2 separate regions of the Homo sapiens genome follow, and region 1 is linked to region 2. The links are contacts of gene promoters, found by promoter capture Hi-C in human tissues and cell types (Jung and others, 2019). All regions are on one chromosome and are shown on one strand. Each heading gives the region's core, a stretch centred on a gene start or on the middle of the fragment in contact. The rest is flanking DNA. Distances are from core to core; before and after follow the strand shown. Region 1 has its middle 15 kb from the start of RTP4. Region 2 holds the start of MASP1 (MBL associated serine protease 1).

What was found. Contacts are between HindIII fragments. The study calls those that stand out against the background at their distance.
Region 1: a contact is called between a fragment that was not itself captured here and the fragment with the promoter of MASP1 in region 2, in 2 of the 25 tissues and cell types used here (ovary and psoas muscle).

The regions. Positions count from the first base shown.
Region 1 is chr3:187,351,684-187,355,115 of GRCh38, reverse strand. No RefSeq gene overlaps it. Among named protein-coding and RNA genes, the nearest start is that of RTP4, 15 kb to the left of the region's middle. The HindIII fragment of the contact is 7,930 bases long and covers 1-3,432 here.
Region 2 is chr3:187,289,495-187,293,209 of GRCh38, reverse strand. It overlaps MASP1 (MBL associated serine protease 1), which reads left to right and starts at 1,473. Exons shown (of 11, transcript NM_139125.4): 1 at 1,473-1,582. The coding sequence starts at 1,578. It overlaps LOC101929130 (a long non-coding RNA gene), which reads right to left and starts at 1,938. Exons shown (of 2, transcript NR_135551.1): 1 at 1,674-1,938. The HindIII fragment of the contact is 8,732 bases long and covers 1-3,715 here.

The sequences.
Region 1 (3,432 bases), core at 139-2,638, 62 kb before region 2:
TAACCTGCTTTGTATTGTGATTTTCTTGGATGCAGGCCTGGCTTGGTGCTGGTCAGGCTTCCCAGAGCTGGAGTCTTGCCTTTTCACAAAATATGGAAGTGGCAACAAGAACTTCCTGTCAGTCTCTGTGACGACCTGCCCAAGTCACTGATGGCTGCCTTGCCTGGCTTTTATCTTAGATGTACACATGACCACTTCTCCTGGATTCCATGTTGGTGCTCTTCCCATGGACTCACTGACTGAGCTGCTGTCTCTCAATGTTCGTGGTTCTTTTCTGAGCTTGTGTGTGAGCATGTCTCTTGAGCCAGCTGGAAGCTCAATGCAGGCAGGGCAGGGGAAGCAGACAAGCTCATTTAGGAAGCTGGATCCACTGCTGCGGAGGTCAGGGAGTAAACATGGCGGCCTCCAATGGGAGACACTAAAGAGTAGATTCTTTCTTACTCGTTGTTGATTGAGGCAGTATGGAAAGATTTGTTTTGTTTTATATGTAGGTTTAATTTTATTTTTTATGTAACAAACAAAGCCCTGTTTGAAGTGTTTTACAAATGTTAACTTGCTCAATCTTCATAACAACTTCACGGGGTAGCTGCCATTTTTATTATCCCTGTCGAAATACTTTGTGCACACAGCTGATAAGTGGAAGAGCCAGGATTCCAAACCAGATAGTTTAACTCTAGAACCTTGCTTTACTGCCTCTCTCATTGCTGGGCCTTCCCACATGAGCTCTCCTTGTCTGGAGGCTCCTTCAGCATCTCTTTACCTGGCCCATGCCGACCTGCCCTTGAAGTATTACTCAGTATTCTCCTCTAATAAATAAGCTTTTTCTGCTTCCCCAGGCCTAGATTTGGTGCCTGCTCTATGTGCTTCCGTAGCACCCAGGGCATCTTGTATAACAATTTCACACTACAAACCTATTGACTTGACTGATCTCTTCTATGACTTAAACTCTTTAAGAGCAGGAACATTTCTTTGGCTGGTACACATTGCACTCTCACGCTCAGTAATGAAACACAGTTGACCCTTGAACAGCACAGGTTTGAAGTGAGTGGGTCCACTTATACATGGGTTTTCTTCACCTCTGCCACCCCTGAGACAAGACAGCAAGACCAACTTCTCCCCCTCAGTCCACGCAATGTGAAGATGACAAGGATGCAGACCTTTATGATCATCCACTTTTACTTAACGAATAGTAAATCTATTTTCTCTTCCTTATGATTTTCTCAGAAACATTTTGTTTTATCTAGCTTACTTTATTGTAAAAATATAATAAATAATATATATAATACAAAATACATGTTAGTAGGCTGGTTATGTTATCAGTAAGGCCTCCAGTCAACAATGTGCTATTAGGAGTTAAGTTTTGGGGGAGTCAGAAGTCGTACACAGATGTTTAACTGTGTGGTGGGGGCGGGTTGGTGCCCCTAACCCCCACATTGTTCAAGGGTCAACTGTACCTGGCAAGTAGTACATGCTAAAAAAAATTGCTTACATATATAAGTAAATCTAAATATTCCTATTTTAATATTAAAGTATAATGTCATTCTATAAATGCCCATTAGCCTCCCTGCTCCCCACTCATTGAGTTTGACTTAACAGAGTATCAAAGTAAAATAAAAATAACGGGTAAGAGGTTTTCCCAACTTTGCTCTCAAAACTGAATCACACTATTTAAACAAACTACATGATTAATATAGTAGATTCACAAAAGTAAATAAATCTATCCCTGTGTATCTCTACCACTTGCGCACTTGGCTAATTCTGAGAACACACTTAGAAGAGGCATTAAAAACCTGAATATATTACGGATGACTATCCCTTAGCCATTTAACCCTTTCACCTGGGTAGCAGCTGTGTGGCGGAGCAGGAAATAGTGAATTAACGCCACCTCAGCCCTGGAGGCAGCGGCAATGCCAATATGAGTATAAGCCAATTAGTGAGACCTCATGCTTCTTCAATAACAAGGAGTTCAGGTATTGCAGTCTGACCCAGTCAGTCCCATCTCCTACTGGGTCATGTGCTGTGCAGACGTGAACTGTGGGAACTGCTGCAAATTTTTTGTCTCCTTAAGGGAGGTCTGGCTTGGGGTGAAGACATCTGGAAAGCAGAGAACAAAGACTAAAAGAAACTTGGTCCTTGACAACCTCATTAGGCTATGAGGAAAAAGTCCTGTAGCGTTCAGCTTATCTCAGTGAACTGAGTGCTCATTCCCTTTATTGCCTAGACTTGTTTGGATTAGGTTTCCTGGTCCATGCACCGTGAAGGGAGTGCCAGCACACTGGAGCACGCCCGAGGACATATGAGCCGGGTGGCATGGAACTCTGAGGGTCAGCAAATGAGGCCACTGCCCCAGCTAGCTCTCAGATCACATGAAACATGGGAAAGGAAAGAAGCCTGAGCAGAGAATTCCAAGACCCTGACCATCATTTTCTCGAGCCTTCTGCCTACCCTTGTCAGGCTTCAGGAATGCAGACAGGCAAAGAAGAACTGCTGTATATCCAAACCTATTCAGCCCCTCCTTGTCTAGACCTAAAAATTTAAAAGGTCCACAAATAGTTCTTGAGCGATTCAGGCTCAACATCCAATACTGGGAAGGACAGGCTTCTGAAATCAGAGAACTTCATATTAAATAAAATTACTAGGGAATAGAGAGAACATTTCATTTGGATTCTGAGAATCTTAAATAAATATTTCTTTTAAAATGACATCATGCAGTTTTAAAGACTGCAAACAAAGAATATCACCAACAAAATTCAAACGGCAAAGGGGCACTAAATATCATGGAAAACCAAAGCAGGAGGGCAAAAGTTCAAAAACGTCTCCCAAAATCAAAGAAAAGAGAGAAGGTGGTGAACCATTGAAAAACAAAGATGTAAAGAACAAATGCAGAAGATCCCATTTAGGTATACAAAAAATATGGTAGGAGAAAAGTGCAAATTGAGGAGAAACAATTAAAGAAGAAAAAAAATGTTTCTGAGTCAAAAAAGACATGTTCGGGTTTGAAAGGACTTCATAAGAAGCAATCAAAATTAATCAATAGAGTTTTCTACATACACATACTCTGGTAAGTTTTAAGTTTTTTTAGATTGGTTGGGTGAGGTGTCTTACATGTATCCAGGCAGGGATGGGAGGAAATGGCTTACCTACAAAGCAACAAAAATTAGGTTGGCTTCAGGTCCTTTCTCATTAATATTAAATTCCAGCAAATATGATGCAACTTTTGCAGAGTTTAAAGGAAAAATATTCGAGTCTGAAAAATCTATCAAGTTATTTTCACTTGCAAAATGGAAAGAAAAAAAGGATCCTTAACAAGTAGAAACTCAATATATATATCTGCGCTTCCCAGAAACCTTATTAAAATTGTGCTCTAAAAGATAATTAAAATAAATACTCTAGGATGGGAATGTCTTTAGTGCTGCCATATTTAACATACAT
Region 2 (3,715 bases), core at 224-2,723:
GGTAGAAAGGAAAGATTACAGCTAAACTCTGAGTCTAATCTTCTTTTCAAAATGACTCAGATTGAGTTTCTCTATGAATGCCGTCTGTGTGTGTGCATTTGAAATTCCATATGCATTATAAAATGTTAATGAGTAGCAGTGTAATACAGTGGCTAACACTTCAAATTCTGCCTCTATTACTTTCTAGCTGTGTGAACTTGGGAAAGTTACTTAACCTCTCTGGGCAATTTCCTCTGAAAAATGAGAATATTGCCAGCCATGTATACAACATATAAAGATGACTGAAAAGAATTCATATATTAAGTGCTTAGAGCAGTGCCTGACACGTAGCACTCAATAGCTGTTAGCTTCTAGTGCTAGTGGCAGTGGGGAGTCATAAATAACTGGATGATCTTGGCAAGTGGCATATTCTCTCTGAGCCTTAGTGTCCTCACTTGTAAAATGAGTATAACAGCAGCACTTTCACCAGTTTGCAAAAGTAACTTGAGATGATGTTAATGACTAGTACTGTGTCTAACACAGAAAAGGTGCACAGTCAAACTTAACTTTTACACCCAGATACACCTCTCCCTATTCAGTGTTGGTTGTTGTTGTTGTGGAGGGGGTAATTTTCTTATTATTCAGCTCATCTTAGATCTAGTGTTGATTTCTCCGGAAGCCATGGGTATAGACATATATACAGGCCCAGGTCTTTCTACACCCCTGGGGAGGTGAGATTTCTTGCTGCGATGGGCCCTTTCTGGGCTGGAGTAGAGCCGCACACACTCCGAGCAAGTAAACAGTGCCACAGGTATTGCTCATGGGGAGGAACAACCAGCCAACTTCAGGACTTGGTGCTTCCCCAGTTCCGGGCCCGTGGCTCTGTTCACAGGAAAACCTGTCGTTGTGTGTGACTCTGATCACGAGAAAACCTGTAGTTATTTGGGGCTCTGCTCACAAGGAAACCTGTAGTTATTTGCAGACAGACGCTCTGGGATTTAGACCTTTTTTTTTTCTTCTAGTGTAGGTGCTAGAATTGCCTTCTTAGTTGGTTGTTTCTATTTAATTGCTTTTCTTTCATGGGTGTCCTGAAGAAAAGCAGAAAATTATAGTCATCTGGCAAAAAAGACTAAAGAGAAATTAGACTTTGTCCCCTTTCACTCTCTCTCTCTCTCTCTCTCTACACACACACACACACACACACACACACACACAGAGTGATACAAATACCTGCTTGAGCCCCTCAGTTATTTTCTCTCAAGGGCTGAAGTCAGCCACACAGGATAAAGGAGGGAAGGGAAGGAGCAGATCTTTTCGGTAGGAAGACAGATTTTGTTGTCAGGTTCCTGGGAGTGCAAGAGCAAGTCAAAGGAGAGAGAGAGGAGAGAGGAAAAGCCAGAGGGAGAGAGGGGGAGAGGGGATCTGTTGCAGGCAGGGGAAGGCGTGACCTGAATGGAGAATGCCAGCCAATTCCAGAGACACACAGGGACCTCAGAACAAAGATAAGGCATCACGGACACCACACCGGGCACGAGCTCACAGGCAAGTCAAGCTGGGAGGACCAAGGCCGGGCAGCCGGGAGCACCCAAGGCAGGAAAATGAGGTACGTGCCAGGGGAGGAGAGGGCACGGTTCCCTTTTGGGGACCAGTGTCAAATAGCAGGGAAGGTCTGACCTTGTCACTGACAGACTCACCTGCGTGTCCTGCATGTGGTAGTGAGGGGCTTTCTCATCAATTCTTAGGGCTCTGAGAAGGGAGCTGTGGGTGGGCTGGGTGCCTTCCCCAGGACTCCAGGAGACATAAAACTTGAAACGGGAGACTTCGTGCAAATCCTGCTCCGGACGCTGCTGAAGCTCAGATTTCTCCCACTGCCTGCACAGGGTGCTGCCTGCTGGCGAATGTGACTCTCCTCCTGTTCACCCACAAGGCTGATTTTTCCGTGTTCCTCCTCTGGAAAGAGCATTGCTTTCTCTCTTCCAGCACTTTGTGAGTTAGATATGTGTTTGTGTGTTCATTCCTTCTGACCAGAAAAGAAACCAGCTTCCCATAGCTTGGCTCTGTGGTTTCTTCAACCTTTACAAGTTTGCCAGTTAAACCTCAATTTAGAAAACTAAAAATCTGTCCCCATTTTACAGTTCCCTATAAATTTTCTGCATTTCTCATTGAAATCAGAGGCAGCTGGTGGCATGAATCAGGCTATGAAGTACACCAAATGGCTCTTAAAGAGATATCATACTTAAAAAAAAAAAAAGGATTTTAGAGTTCTGAAATCAAGAACTTCAAATTCTAATTGGTTTTAAACTCTTTAACCTTTCTTATTCCTCATTATACTTGACACTCCTTACCAGACCTTTCATACAAGTTCTATCCTGCAAGTCTGAAAACCCAACCACCCTAGTTATTTTTATTAGTTAAGTGTTAATGCTGTTACACACACACACACACACACACACACACACAATGCTCTGCAGATGTGTAAGTCCCTAAACACATCTTTTACTATTAATTTTCTTTTCACTTGGGAAAGTGTTTTTATTTGTTTCTCTTCTGCAAAGTAACCTAGCAACTTTTCTGGACCTGAGACCAATGAGAGGCTTCAGACTATGTTAACTCTTTGAACTCCGATTACCTGTGGTTCAGAGAGATAACCAGGTCCTTAAAAAGTGAGTGCAATAATTCTGTTCTTCTTAAAGCCATAGTAATTTTAAACCTGCCATTAAACATCATTTTTCTTTCTCCAAAAAAAAGTGATTTATGTCAATCTACATTGAATGATAATCTCATTTATCTGTCAATGATCTGGTCTGAATCCCACCCTACCATTCAGTGCCCCAGCCCATATCAAACTACTTGGCTGAGTAACAATTCTGTATCTTTGCATATGCTCATCCCTCAACCTGGAGCAACCTTCTTCTTTATTTTCCACCTAGAAGACCTGATTGTTCAAGCTGGCACAAATATCTCTTTCTCTCTCCTGACCACCATATTCCAGAGTGAGCATCCCCTCCTTTGTCCTTTGTTCTGTTTCTGTCCCTTGAAGCTGCATCTCTTATTGTCCTTGTAGTATCCCCTTGTTTAAATGTCCACCTCCCCTTACAAGTCTCAGCACTCCTTAAGTTACATGATCTATGTCTTCATCTTTGTATGGCCAGCACCTAGCATAATGTCTATTTCCTACCAGCCATTCAATACCTATTTGTTGAATTGAATTCAATTTTTGAATAGCCAAGCAACTACGAGAAAGGTGCTCTGCTAGAAAAGTCTCCAGCAGGTCTTGTCTCACATGGATACAGTATTTCAGTGTTTGCAGAGCACTTTCAAGAGCACTGTCTCATGGGGGTTTCAGATTCTGGATGAAGTAAGGATTTATGGATAAGTAGTGGGTATAAAAGCAGTTAAGCAACTTGCCCAAACCACACTGATGATCATGAAAAGGTCCAGATTCAAATTTGGGTCTTCGGGCTCCAAGTTCAGGATTTTTTCTACTATATTCCACTAGACTTTCAGCCAAGTGTATTATTCTAAACTGACGGCTCATAATTCTGACTGTACGTCGGAATGATCTGTGCTGCCTTGAAACATGCCAGTGCTCAGGCCTCACCCCAGAGCAATTAAACCAGAACCTCCTGAGGAGGGACTTTGGCATTAATATTTTTAAATTTTTTACGTAAAGCCATGGGTTTTTCAATTATTTTTCACAGGATTAATTGCTTTGGCCAGATGCCTGGGCATGATA